Linked DNA regions of Homo sapiens: all the other regions are linked to region 1. Evidence: promoter capture Hi-C in 16 types of primary human blood cells and fetal thymus (Javierre and others, 2016). All regions are on one chromosome and are shown on one strand. Each heading gives the region's core, a stretch centred on a gene start or on the middle of the fragment in contact. The rest is flanking DNA. Distances are from core to core; before and after follow the strand shown.

Region 1 (3,653 bases), core at 775-3,274:
GGGGGTTGGGGCCCAGTGCCCCCCTCCAACCAGGAAGGAGAGAAGTTCACCTCTTCCCTGCCCTGAAGAATTTGCCACCCATGAGGAAGGCATAATAAAAGCAGGCAGTCCCTGCCCACATTCAGGGCTACTTCTGGGCTTTTCTATTCTGACACCCAGCTGGGTATTGGGGGGGGGCGTCTTACGAAAAGCACAGAGGATTTGGTGGGTGGGGGTTTAGGTTGTAGCTGGGCAAGGATGCCTTTTGGCATTGCAGAGAGGTGTCCTGAGAGACCAGAGGCAGGGTTTGGGTTTGCAAAGGGACTTGGCATGGGGGTCTGGGGGAGTCTCTCTGCCCCCCGACTCTGCCTGTTCTCAAGGACATGGTAATCTGGTAGGGTGCTGGTCCCCAAAATCCTATCTTCTCCGGGAATACTACCTCACTGGGCACTCTGGGCTGCAAGCCGTACCCACCAGGGACTTCCCAAGAGCATCCTTGGCCACAGTGGGATGGCAGCCAGCCCCAGCTAGAGGAAGGGAAGGGGGAAAGGAGGTGTTGGGGGCCCACTCACCATCGCCCAGGCCCCCGTTGGCTGAAGGGCCATCCAGGGGGTGCAGGAGGGGATGCGGTGCAGCCAGGACCCGGGTGCGAGTTACGAGTGGGTGCGCACGGCGGTGAGATGACTCCACAGGAAAGGGCCGGCCTTGGGTGGGGAGGGGGGGCACCCGAGCTCAGCCAAGAGGGGCCCCCACCCAGCCAGGAGGGGGCGCTGAGAGGGGCGGAACGACAGCTGGCCCAAAAGGGGTGGGATAGAGTTCCTTGTTAGGCCCAGAGCCAGGGCCTGGAATAGAGTAGGGGACAGGGGAGAGGATGGGGGCGGTTAGAAACATGGGGTGTGCATGGATCCAATCAGGCCTGAGAAGCCAGGGAGGAGGGAAGGGGGTGAGGCTTACTGGGTGCCTCACATTGGACAGGGAAAGCTGAGGACCTAGAACATTTTCCAGGGTCCCATGGGAACATGGCCAGATAAAACCCCCCGGCAGCGGCCCCAGGGCACAGGTTCCCCTGTGTTCCAGCAGAGCTGCACCTGCTGGGCAAGTGAACCCAGAAACCCACCCTCTGCCCGGGATGACCCCATCTGAGTACTGCGGCAGGGGGCGTTCCCATCACAGCCTGCAGGCTCACAGCACCCTGCCATGGAGTCTCCCCAAAATAAAGCTTGGATGAGGCTCCCCTGTCTCTCAGGATGGGGGTGCAGGGGTGAGATGAGGGGCTGGACTTTGGGAAGTGGGTCCAGCTTGTTTCCCTGTTATTTAAGGGGGTGACTCTGGCTTTTGAAAGGATACAAAAAGTCTCTTGGGAAGGGTCCCAGACGGCTTCTGAAAGGGGCTCCCCTCTGCCCATTTCTAGGGAAACCCAATGTTTAGGAGACTGTGTCAGGAAGCATACTATTAGAGGAGATCTCTCCTCTCTTGAACTCAGGAGCTGAATGCCATTCCAAGGGACTCCCTATATGTGGGAAGGCTCCATTTAGGGGTATCCCATATCACCTAGGATCCCAGGCACCTGGTGGCAAAGAATACCCTCAATTTTGGGGGGTTCAGAGGCCAGAGGGATCAATATGTGGAGGGCGAATATCTCCCGCAGAAGCCTGGGGACTGCTCAAATGCAATCACCCCTAATTTATCAGGAATCCCAAGTTCCACCCCCAACCAGGAGGGTAAATGAGCCTTGGGTAGCGAGAAATCGGGAACCCCGAAGCCGCTCTTGGCCAGAGGGGCGGGGCAGCCAGAGACGTAGGGAATCCCCCACCCCTGCAGTCCCTAAGGGTGGAGAGTGCGGTGGGGATGTGCCTCCAACTGCGCGCCCCGGGGCGTTCTTGGCTCGCACCCGCGAACCCCACCCCCCCCAACAATCCAGCTCAGGGGTCTCCAGGAGGAGAGCCCCCCAATTCCCAGAACTCCTGCCCCCGAACTTCAGTACCTTGCGCGCTGCAGCCCCAGCGCCATGGCTCGCCAGTCGCCGCTCCGGAGCCCTCGGAGGCCCCTAGCCCCCTCCCCGGCCTTGCGAGCCCCCTCCCCAGCTCCTCCCCACGCCGCGCGGTTGGCTGTGCCACGCCAGGCCTGAGGCTCTGATTGGGCAACGGTATGTCACTCCTGAAAAGGAGGCGGAACCAGAGGGAAAGACTTGGAAAGGCAAGGGGGGGATACCGTGTAATACACACCCCCCAACCACGCCCCTCGCCGCGGACTTCCTCGGCAGTGTATCCCGCACCGTCGGCTGAACGCGCCTTCTCTAGTCCAGCCTCTGAAGTGCCAACGCCAGTACTCTTCTGAACCCACTCAGTTCACTCTGCTCTCTGGACCCCAGTCCCCAGCCTCTAACCCCCACCTCTTCTCACCTTTCCATTTCCTAACCCCAGTTGAGCCCCTCTGACCTCCAATCCCACCCCTTCCAAACCCCTAGCCCTGCCTTCTCTATCCCTTCTAAGGTATTCACAGAGTACCCCACATCTCCTCCCCACCCCCCAACTCCCAACCCCACCCCAGTTCCACAATCCTTGGCCCTCTGGCACCTACCCTTCTCTCTCTCTCCCCAGCCCCTCCCTGCCACCCCAGTCCCATACCCCACTTCGCCCCCATTCCTCCAGTCTGCACCCTCTGCACCCCAGCTTACCTTCCCTACCCCCTCTACTCCACCCTAACCTCTTGGCCTCTCTGACTCCCTTTTCAGGTTCCCATTGATGAATAATTAAGCTTATGTCAAGTAAATATGTTTTAACTCAATCACACCTACTTCAAAAAAGAGCCGAGAAATGTATTTTTTTTTAACTAGTCGACTATGAAGGGAGAAGTACAAAGGTACCAAGCAAGGGTGAAAGCATTACAGTTGGATAAGGAACAGAGTGTGTGTGTGTGTGTGTGTGTGTGTGTGTGTTGGACCACTATTCTGGATTTGGTTGGCAGGGAAGAGGATACTACAGCAGAAGTGGCCTTGTTGAACCTTGAACTTGCCAGGCAAGTTGCTCACCTTAGGGCCTTTGCACTTGCTGTTCCCACAGCTTAGCACACTCTTCCTCCAGGAATCCACACGGCTCCCCGGCTCACGCCAGTTCCCCACTCTGTTTTCTTTTGGGAAACCACTTCTCTGTCCTCTTCATCTATTTAATTTGAATAGGGCTTGGCCACTGCTCTGCCTTCACCAGCTCCAGGGATGGACATAGGATCCAAACCTGGCTAATCAGTTGAGTCTGCTTCCCTGGCCACAGTGATTGGTTCAGGGAAGGCATGTTACCTAATTTAGCCCAATGAGAATCAACCCTGAGACATTTGCTGAAACCATTAGGAAAGAGGATTTTCTATGTCTGCTGGAATTGCTGGGCAGATGGAGCAGATGGGGCTCACACTGCCACAAAGAGAGGAGAGGCTTTATGAGATGAGGTTCAGTGCAAAAGAGATTGTGCAGAAATGAACGATTGTGAAAGGCAGTTTTGACACCAGCACTTGAGTGCCTGGATCCAGCCATACCTGAACTCCAGTTTAATTCTTGGATTTTTCAAATGAAACCCACAATGGGCTTTTTTTTTTTTTTTTTTTTTTTTTTGCTGTTGCTTTTGTCAAATATTGCTTCATTCACTATTGCCTTATTTGCTTTGTGCTTAGATTCGTTTGAA
Region 2 (3,653 bases), core at 841-3,340, 220 kb after region 1:
ATAAATAAATGATTGAATAAATAAGTGGGGAGAAGAGACAAATCTCTAATACAGAAGAATTCGAAGTAATATATATAAATACAGCACCATCAAGGAAGGAAAGCCCAACTCCTCACTTTTTAAAATGCAGGCTGCAAATAATGACCTGGCTCCAAAGAGTTCAATGTGGAAAGGGGAGAAAAAGAGTAACTTTACGCTGGAGAAAAATACCACATCAGCCAGGTAATCGGTGTCATAATCATCAATGATAAATCATGTTGACAGTATCTCCTTGATAGGATGTGATAGAAATGGTACTTTACCTCTGTTATCTTGCTCCCCAAAACCAATAATGTCAGTCTAATCATTAGAGGGAAAAATCACACAAATTCCAGTAGGGATATTCTACAACCTTACCAGTGCCCTTCAGACCCTGGTAAGGATCTGAAGCATCTTGTGCCAGAAAATAAGCAAGTTCCTTACCAGTACTGCTCATAACTGTGAAGGTCATCAAAAACAAGGAAAAATCTGAGAAACTGTCACAGTCAAGAGGAGGCTAAAGAGACAGGACAACTAAATGCAATGTGTCCTGAATAGGATTCTGGAACAGAAAGAGAACATCTGGTGAAAATGAAGAAAACCTAGATAAACTATGGACTTTAGTTACTAACGGGGTATAAATATCCTTTCATTAATTATAATAAAATACTAATGTAAGAAGCTAAAAATAGGGGAAGCTGGTTTCAAGGTATTTGGAAGCTTTTTATACTAGCTTCTTAATTTTTCTGTAAATCTAATGCTGTTCTAAAAATAAATTATTCTTTAAACTATTGAAAACTCTAAGTGGTAGGTTTAAGATAGCCACAAATTCTTTCTGTTCTTCCCATTGAAAGGTGGAATTGAATCCCTTCCTCTTCAATCTGGGCTTACCTTGTGACTTCCTTGACCAGTAGAATGTGGTGAAAGTGTCTTGATTTCCATGTCAGGGACATGATTTTCATCAGCTTCTTGGAATACTTGCATGCGGAGCTTGGCTTCTGTAATGGTTAATACTGACTGTCAACTCGATTGGATTGAAGGATGCAAAGTATTGATGCTAGGTGTGCCTGTGAAGGTATTGCCAAAGAAGATTAACATTTGGGTCAGTGGGTTGGGAAAGGCAGACCCGATGTTAATCTGGGTGGGCACCATCTAATCAGCTGCCAGCTTGGCTAGAATAGAAAGCAGACAGAAAAATGTGAAAAGACTAGACTGTCTCAGCCTCCCAGCCTACATCTTTCCCTCATGCTGGATGCTTCCTGCCCTCAAACATCGGACTCCAAGTTCTCAAATATCAGACTCCAAGTTCTTCAGCTTTGGGACTCGGACTGGCTTCCTTGCTCCTCAGCTTGCAAACAGCCTATTGTGGGACCTTGTGATCCTGTGAGTTAATACTATTTAATAAACTCCCATATGTGTATATATACATACACATATATACATATGTAGATATACATACATTAATTATAATAAGTATACATATACATATATGGGAGTTTATTAAGTAGTGTTAACTCACACGATCACAAGGTCCCACAATAATAAGATATATATATGTGTGTGTGTATATATATATATGTATATATATATCTCCTGCTCGTTCTGTCCCTCTAGACAACCCTGACTAATACAGATTTCTTGGGAGGAAGCCCAAGTAGCCCTGTGGAGGCACTAATATGAAGAGGAACTAAGACCCCCCTAGCCAATTCCCTGAACTGAGCTCCCAAATGACACCCAGCACCAGTTTCTCAAGCACATAAATGAGCCATTCTGGAAGCAAATCCTCCAGGCTCAGTCAGGCCATCGTAGCTAACACTGTGCGAAGGAGAAATGAGCCTTCCCCACTGAGACATTCCCAAGTAATGTATTAGAGAAGGAAAGAAATGTTGATTTTTTAAGCTACTAAGAAAGGAAAGAATATGCCTTGTAATTATGTGCCATCAATCAAGTTTTTCAGCAAAATCATTTTATGTGTTACAATAATTTGGCTTCTCATTACAAAAAAATACTTTCAGTCATTCTGACCATTCTATCTTTAAAGACTTCCAGTGTCCAGAAAAGAAGTTGAGATTGTGAGTCTATAATCCAGGATTGAGGATCCTGACTGTAGAAGAGAATGTGATGTCAGAGTGTTGAGATATTTGCCAAGTTCTCGAGAATGATCCCAGAATGATTCTCTGTCAGGGAAGTTCCAGGCAGCATGGACTGGGTGGAAGAGTGCTGTTACTCTTGTGTTAGCAGAGACTGTGCCAGTTCAGTCTCTGGCCATTTTTCTGGGCCACATAGGGTGTGGTAACTTTGTCTCCCTTTGGTTACGGGACCGCATCCATCACACAGAGGGCCTAGACCTGGTGCAGCACCTGGCTGGTTATCTTGTGGGTGATAGTGTTATTCTGCTAGGGCCCCAAGGCTTCCTATGAAACTACATGTGTATGAGTCAGACATTATACCCCAGGCTAGAAATAGCTCAAGGGAGCTCCAGTTACATAATATTAAGGAAAGAAGGAACTCTAATTGCAATTACAAGAATAAGGAGGCCTATTAGGGCATCCTGATCATATCTTTAGTGAGTGTTCACTATCACTATCATGATAGTATTTTGTAGGTATCATTTAAAATACTTTTTAACCTGCCATTTTGAAATAATTTTAGATTTACAAGAATGTTGTAAAGCCAGTACAGAGTTTTGATCTTTCACCCAACTTCGTCTAATGTTAACATCTTAAATGATCCTAATACAATTATTGAAAGTAGGAAATGAATGTTGAATCTACAGGCTTTATTTTAGTTTTGTTGGTAGTCCCCTCCTGTCCACTTCCTGCTCCAGGATCCAATCCAGAATCCCACATTACTTTTGATAATGTCTCCTTTGTGCTCTCCCAACTGGGATAGTGCTTTGTGTTTTCTTGAGTCTGTATTTCTCTATTTGGTATCCATTAACTACGGGGTTTAACTCATGGCCAAAGGTATCTGCATCTCCCCCGAGATCCAGAGCCCCCGCTCTGAACCATCTCCTTTATCTCTCTTACACACCAAGCCAACATTTTCTCTGCCCTAAGTCAACCCAGGGCCAGGTACCAGACAACTAGAGGCTGCCACTATATTTCACACCCTGCCAATATTATTCAAACTGACCAGTTGTGAGCTGCATCTCCTGCCCTGTTCTGCCTTTCCCACAGAACACATCATAAGGGCTCTGGCCTAGGTTTTTGCTCACTCCTGCCTCTGTCTCCTGATCACACCTGGGGCTTCCCCACATGCCCCTGCTTCACATTCTGTGCCTCTAATTTCTACCGAAACTGTGAGTGACATTAAACATATTTCAATGGCATTGGCATCTCCCTGTCATTACCTCCATTGATTAAAATCCCATGGGTATAAATGAGACAAATACTTCTTAAGACTTACCTCTCTGCTAAGCTTTGGGTGGTCTAGAATGTGCATGTGCAGACCAGTCTTCATCCAGGAACTTTGGTGGACCCCACGTGGATTTGGGGGGCTCGCACTTCTTCACTGATGCCACACCTAAGGGATTCCAGTTCCATCAAGCCATCCAGAACCTTAGTTCTGCGGAACTGCTGTGCTATACTCAGATCCTTGCTACTTGCACTTCCGTTGGGAAACTGTCCCCAGGC
Region 3 (3,653 bases), core at 805-3,304, 210 kb after region 1:
TTTTTGGTACAGGCAGGGTTTTACCATGTTGACCAGACTGGTCTCAAACTCCCAACCTCAAGTGATCCACCTGTCTCAGCCTCCCAACGTGCTGGGATTACAGGTGTGAGCCACTGTGGCTGGCCAAAAAAAAAAAATTTTTTTTAATTAGCCAGGAGTGGTGCTGTGTGCCTGTAGTCCCAGATACTCAGGGGACTGAGGCAGAAGAATCGCTTGAGCCCAGGAGTTTGAGGGTGCAGTGAGCCATCACCACACCACTGCAGGCCAGCCTAGGTGACAGAACAAGACCCCAATCTCTAACAAACAACAACACAAAGTTAGTATTGCATTAAGAAAAGAAACAACCTCAAAATGTGAATCAAGAAAGAGCCTTGACAGTGAATGAAAGTAATTATTTAACTTATCTTGAAATCCAGGTTTGAACGTAAAAAATGTTTACCAAATGTGATTAATTTCTCCCCATTATAGAAGAAATGTGACACTTCAAACTTTTGATTATGGTATATACACTTAATGCATTGCATTTTTATAGATTTTAGTTTAACCAGTAATTCAGAAAGGCATTAAAAAATAAATTGAAACTTTATTTTTATATAAAAATTTATCATGCTGTTTGAGTTCATTTTTTAAAAATGCTTTTGTATTTGTCATTGAAACTGTTGAGGCTCTCAAATTCCATAGCTAATGACTGTGTTTCTTTAGCTAAATAATTCTTTCAACTAAAGACATTAAGTGCACAGTCATCTTTCAGCTCTTGTAGCTGCTTCTGTATATCAGCAACAAGAGTAAGAAATCAGAAACATTAGGACTCTAAGTTGAACAAAGGCTTTCATTTCATGGTAAGCCTGTTTTACACCTACAATGAATGACATCAGTCTTTCTTACAAAACATATTATAAATAAACTAGGATATAACAATAGGTTATCTCAGCAACAGAAATACAACTCCTAAGGAGAAACACAAACATGGAAAACACAAGTGTCTCTTCTAACAGAATAATTTGTATACTGATTAAAGTTTTTGACTGTGTACTAATTTGAAAGAAATATGTAGGCCAAGCACCTTACATGCCAAGCACCTTACAGAACTGAAGACATTCTAAGTAACAGTTTGCCTATATTCTTTCATAAATATCCCCACTTAATGGCCTCCTCACACTAAAACGTGCTGTTTAAAAACATAAATGTGGACCACTTCTCAGTGGAATCCTTCCCTAGATATCTACTTCTTACAAATGTTTTTCTATGAGGCTACAGGCATTTGGGAAGAAGGGCAGAGCAAGATGGTGCATTAGGACTCTCTAGTAATCATTGCCCACACGGAAACATCAATTTGAATGATTCATGCACAAAAATACCTTCAAAAGAGCTAAGGAAACCAGGTGAGAGATCACAGTACCTAGTTATAGCATAATAAGAAAAGATGCATTGAAGAGAGTAGGAAGAACAATTTTATGTCACCCAAATTACCCTTCACTCAACCCCAGGCAGCATAGCACAGAGAGAGATACATACTGTCTGCTTGGTGGAAAGAGAGGAAAGTAAACAAAATTTTGCCTTGGACCCTAATACTGGATCTTCCACAGTAAAACCCTGCATTAGGCAGACCCCTGCAACCGCTCAACCCATATCAGTACCTATGGACTAAGCTTCCAGAGCTGCCCGGGAACCAGATGGGAACCCACAGCCCCTGCAAGGCCAGCTCAATCCACAGTTTGCATCACTGCTAGCCTGGGCCCTGGGCTACAGACAAATCTTGGCAGTAGGCAGGCACCAGCAGCCACAGGCTTCAGGCATATGCCAGCTCTGTGCCAGCCTCAGAAGCCATGAGATTCCAGCCGGGCAACGTGCTTGTCATCACGTACCAGCATAGGTCACCCTCTAGAGTTGTAATGGCCACAGTGGCACAGAGATCACACCAGTCTGTCCAGGCTATCTAGACAGGCTTATTGTTGAAGGGCGTTCCCAGACAAAGCCAGTTTACAAAGACTGGAAATAAGTACCTACTTCTTAAAATATGCAGATGTTGACGTGTGGCCACAAGATCAAGAACAATCAGAGAAATATGACATTAGCGGGGAGACAAAATAAAGCACCAGTGACTAACAATAAAGAGATGGATAAATATGAACTCCTTACTAAACAATTCAAAATAACTTTTTAAAGGAAGCTCAGCAAACTTAAAGAAAATACAGAGAAACAATTCAAAGAAATGAGGAAAACAGTAAGTGGCTAGAATAAGAAATTTAGCAAAGACTGAAATAATTTTAAAAAACTCAAACAGAAATCCCAGAGCTGAAAAATACAATGAACAAAATTTTACATGCAATACAGAGTCTAAACAGCAGAACTAATCAAGTAGAAAAAAGAATCTGTGAACTTGAAGACAAGTTATTTGAAAATGTACCATCAGAGGGGAAAAAAGAAAAAAATAATAAAAAGAAATGAAGAAAGCTTATGGGATTTATGAGACAGCATCAGAAGAGCAAATGTTTGGGTCACTGGAATTAAAGAGGGAGACCAAGAGGTAGAAAGCTTATTTAAACAAATAATAGCAGAAAGTTTTCCAAACCTGGAGAAAGATGTAAATATCCAGGTACAAGAAGGTCAAAGGACTCTAGCCAGATTCAATCCAAATAAGATTACCCCAAGCCATATTATAAGTAAACTGCCAAAAATCAAAGACAAAGATAGGATCCTGAAAGCAACAAGAAAAAAGAAGCAAATAACATATAAGGGAGTTTCAATATGCTCACCAGCAGACTTCTCGGAAACTTTACAGACCTGAGAGAGTTCAAAGTGCAGAAGGGAAAAAAAAAAACCTACCACCAAGAATACTATACCCTAAAAGGATCTTCTTCAGAAATGAAGGAGAGATAAGACTTGCTCAGACAAACAAGTGCTGGGGGAGTTTACCTCCACCAGAGCCATCTTACAAAAAATGCTAAAGGGAGTTTTTCAAGCTGAAAGAAAAAAATGCTAATGAGTAACACAAAAACATCTGAAAGTACAAAATTCACTGGTAAAAGTAAGTATACAGTCAAATTTAGAATTATACTGTAACAGTGGTGTATAAATCACATGTATTTCACATGAAGGTTTAAAAACTATTAAAAATAATCACAATAATTTGTTAAGAGATATGCGACATAAAAAGATGTAAATGATTACATCAAAATTCAAAATACAAGGTGCAGAGCAGTAAAAGTGTAGAGGTGGGCTTTTTTGTTATCAAAGTTGTTATCAGCTTAAAATAACATATGATAACTATAAGGTTTTCTTGTAACTATAAAGTTTTTTTTGGTAACTACAAACCAAAAACCTATAGTAGATAAAAACACAAAAATAAAAAGTAAGGAATCAAAATATACTGCTAGAGAGAATCACTTAACCACAAAGGAACAGTAAGACAGGAAGAAAGAAACAAAGGATCTATAAAACAATAAACAAAATAGCAGTAGAAAGTCCTTACCTATAAATAACTTTTAAGATCTACCAGAGTCTACATTAGCGCCTTTAACCCAGTCATGTTCATAGAATGACTTCCTTTTCCTATTTCAATCCTTTATAGCTTTGCTGATTATTTCCTCTGTCTGGGACATCCTTGTTTTGTTTTGTTTTTCAATCTTCTCAAACCCCAATCAACATACAAC
Region 4 (3,653 bases), core at 645-3,144, 180 kb after region 1:
AGAAAGTGCCACACTTTTTAACCATCAGATCTCAGGAGAACTCACTCACTATCACGAGAAAAGAATGAGGGAAACTGCCCCCATGATCCAATCACCTCCCACCATGTCCCTCCCTAACATGTGGGGTAATTCAAGGTAAGATTTGGGTGGGGACACAGAGCCAAACCATATCAGCACCCATGACTTTAATAAATGGAGTTCGCCAATAACTTCTGTGAAAACAAAGACTAACCAAATAAGAAAGTAAAGGCTATCTATTCTACAACAAAGAAGTCAGCCACCATCACTTCCATTTTGGGAGAGACTCAAAGACCAGCAGAGGAGTAGGAAAGCTTTATAGTGGAAAAGGTATCACCCTTTTTTTCGCATGTTCCCTGATTGGAGGCTGTTGGCATGGGGAAGCTGAGGATAGCTAACTAGATGCACAGCATCCTATGGGATTGGTTTAGGGTACGTATTTGGCTTTCCTACGTTGCTCCTAAGTTAGAAACAGGAACAAAAATTTGGGAAGTTGTCAGTTATTAATAAAGTCCTGGCCATTTGGAGCTGACTGTTACTGGAGTTACTGTTTAGTTTCCTGGATTGTTACCAGAGAAAGTCTGACTTCCTACAAGTGTGACTTACAGCAAGTGGCTTCCTGGGCTGTTTATTGTAGAAAAGTGGGTTGATTTCCTAGGCAGGCTGCTGTAGGTTATGGGTCAGAGTTCTGTTTTTATATGTGGTCTGGCCATTGTCTGTATATTTTGTCTCTCATCTCTAAGAAATACAGCCATAAACCAAGCTCTTTTTGTAACACAGAGCAGAACTTCAATACAGGGGACTGCTTTCTTCATTATTGCTGTCATCTATTTATTGCTGTTTTTTGACAGTGATGATCTCAAGGCTAAAACGGCTGAACACCCCATTTAATTAGGGTAGTTCAGGGCTCTAACTTACATGCTTTACACAACCATTGCCTTCTTAGACATGGCAGATAACAAGCATGGAATATTATTGCTAGTCTTGGCTTTGTGGTGTAAAGCTGGTTTTCATACAGCTCCCAGAAAGCTCTCTATAGACATCAGTGGAGCCAAAAGTCTTCAAGCTTTATCCCATCTTATTTCCTGCTTCTCTTGTGCCCATGGGTCATTGTCTTTCCTGTGACAACTGAGGTTAAAGATAAATCTTGGATTTCTCCCTTTATGGCTTCCACAATGCTTATCTTCTTTGTCGTAATCCTGGATATCTACGTGGATTCCATTTGTTCAGTCAAAATGGAAGTTTCCAAATGTCCCCATGATTGATCCTTTCCTGTTTTTATTAGTGCTTTGGAAATTTCTGAATACATCCAACAACAGTCTGACTTCAGGCTATGAACAAAATGGCATACCAGGAAAGTGCAGAACACATCCTGTCTGGAGGAGTGATAGTGAGTACTAGGTCTTCATTTTGTCTACCAACGTCTTTTCATCTCCCTCTAAGAGAGGACGGAACGCTTTTTGCCTCTGTAGAATCATTCTATGATGTGTTGACCAGCAGTCTGGGTCTCATCTCAGATGTATTTCACACACTCTATGACAGATGTGTTTTAGTCATGATATTTATTGCTGCCCTGATGAAAAGATGGAATGCAATGGGATTTTTCTCCTATGGGTGCACCCAAATAGAAATTCTCTCTCAATTTATTAATAGACTTTTTCTTTTCTCCAAGAAAATTCCATTTGTATTTCAATTGGTATTAAAACAAACTTACAAGTGTTTTGAAGGAATTGACCTCTTTCCTAACATGCACCTTTCCACTCTGAGCAGCAGCTCTAATGTACTGTATTTCCTTGACACCATTACCAAGTATGAGCCACATCATCAATTTGATAGCAGATTTGTAAAAACCAAACCAAAACATTACATTACATCCAGAATGTGATGATTCTTCCAAATCACTTTCAGCCACTGGCAGCCATCACAGCGACAAGCTGTCTACTCCCACTCCTCCTCTGCAGGCTTAAGCTATTAGAAAATCTATTCTCTAACATATTTGAAAGTTCTAAGGTCAAACAAGTTTTAGGGCTGTTTGATTCAGCCACTCATCCATGTCCTCAAGGTCCCAGCTTGTGTTCATCTATGCTTTGTGGTCCTGACTGTACTGGTTTCGCCTCCAGGCTCCTGGCACATGGATGGAACAGTTCTGGTATCACATCCAAACACAGCAATGTCCAGAGATCCAAAGAGATTCTCAGTCTTTTTCTTAGGAAGGAGGGACCTTCCTAGAAGCCCCACAGCTTTTTTCCTTTCTCATTGGAAAAACAGGGTCACTAGTCCACTCTGAAACCAATTTCTGACATGGGGTGGGGGCCACTATAATTATTTAAGGCCAAACAGAATGTACCCTCAGGTGGTGGTGGTGGTTTTTGTCATAATTGCAGATCTTGGACCTCCAAAATAAATGTGAAGCACAACAAAGAATACTTGCCTATTAGTTAAATTGCCTAATTTAAACTCTCAGTTTTGTTGAATTACTATTATTGGAAATTAAACTGCCTTTTGAAAGTTAGCTGGGAGCTTCTGACACACAGATGTTCGGCATCTCAGGGATAATTCTTCATAAAAGGAATAAACTGGTCACTCCAATTTCTCCTAGCTTTGAAAGTCGTAGAGTCTATTCTGCAGGACTATTTAATGAAGCAGTTTTGAATGCAACAGGAAAAGTTCCATGTAACAAAGCTTTCTGTTTCACCATTTCATCATAATGTAATCTTTTTTATTTGTACAGACTCGGGGTGTACATTTACAGGTTGTTACATGGATATACTTCATAATGGTGAGGTTTGGGTTTCTATTAATAGATTTTTCTAATGGCAAAACTTGTTTTTGTGTTAGTCAGTGGTTCAATTGATCCTCTAGGACTAGATACACATATTAACACCAGTCTCAGCTACGGGGCTGGTAGTAAACCTGATTGGTATCTATGCCCATAACAATACCTATTGAGCTACTCAATGAAGATGTGACTCATCTAATCATAGCCATTAGTATCATATACGTGGACACCATGACTGTGAAACAGTTACAGCCATTAATGAGGCATGAGTGCTAGAAGAAAGATGTATTTCCATATGTTTTGGCAGACACACTTGGCAATGTGGGTGTGATCATATCCATTATGCTCACAGAGCGGTGTGGGTGGCTTATTGCTTAACTCTTCTATTCTCTTTTTATTGCCATATGAATACCTCTCAGTGTTGTCCCATTAATTAAAGATGCCTGTCAGTTTATCAGGTCATCCTTTTGAGACTACCACCAGAATATCCAACAGATATACATACTTATTTTAAAAACTGAGGCTTCATATTACACTGAGACCTTCACTTTTTGATATCATTCTGCCACTATTGGGACAGGACCAACTGATATAGAGGTGACATCCAATGTGCTGGAACAAAGAATGGTACTGCAAGTTGTAGGAGTAAAGATGCTAGATTAAACAATTTAACAATTCAAGTGGAAAAAGGGTTACTTTCAACATATGTCTGATCTAAGAACTGGATTTTATAATGTTCTGGCTATAACAAAACAAACGAAGAGTATAAAGTACTGCAAAAGACGGTACTTACATCATGTAAGATAACTCAACAACTACCCTGGGGTATGAGCAATAAAGAATAAATGACTCAGTA

Evidence for each region. The method cuts DNA at HindIII sites, captures the fragments that hold promoters and counts their contacts. A CHiCAGO score of 5 or more calls a contact.
Region 2: a contact is called between a fragment that was not itself captured here and the fragment with the promoter of HIF3A in region 1, in 3 of 17 cell types (M0 macrophages, M1 macrophages and M2 macrophages). The highest score is 6.8, in M0 macrophages.
Region 3: a fragment that was not itself captured here is called in contact with the fragment with the promoter of HIF3A in region 1 in 2 of 17 cell types (M1 macrophages and M0 macrophages); the score reaches 5.6 in M1 macrophages.
Region 4: a fragment that was not itself captured here is called in contact with the fragment with the promoter of HIF3A in region 1 in 1 of 17 cell types (M1 macrophages); the score reaches 5.1 in M1 macrophages.

Annotation. Positions count from the first base shown.
Region 1 is chr19:46,295,413-46,299,065 of GRCh38, reverse strand. HIF3A (hypoxia inducible factor 3 subunit alpha) reads right to left here and starts at 2,024. Exons shown (of 15, transcript NM_152795.4): 1 at 1,964-2,024. The coding sequence starts at 1,989. The HindIII fragment of the contact is 1,538 bases long and covers 1,201-2,738 here.
Region 2 is chr19:46,072,230-46,075,882 of GRCh38, reverse strand. It overlaps a transcript of IGFL4 not described here. Among named protein-coding and RNA genes, the nearest start is that of IGFL4, 33 kb to the right of the region's middle. The HindIII fragment of the contact is 2,700 bases long and covers 741-3,440 here.
Region 3 is chr19:46,088,821-46,092,473 of GRCh38, reverse strand. It overlaps a transcript of IGFL2 not described here. Among named protein-coding and RNA genes, the nearest start is that of IGFL3, 34 kb to the left of the region's middle. The HindIII fragment of the contact is 805 bases long and covers 1,652-2,456 here.
Region 4 is chr19:46,111,020-46,114,672 of GRCh38, reverse strand. It overlaps a transcript of IGFL2 not described here and the pseudogene LOC100533846. Among named protein-coding and RNA genes, the nearest start is that of IGFL3, 12 kb to the left of the region's middle. The HindIII fragment of the contact is 1,616 bases long and covers 1,087-2,702 here.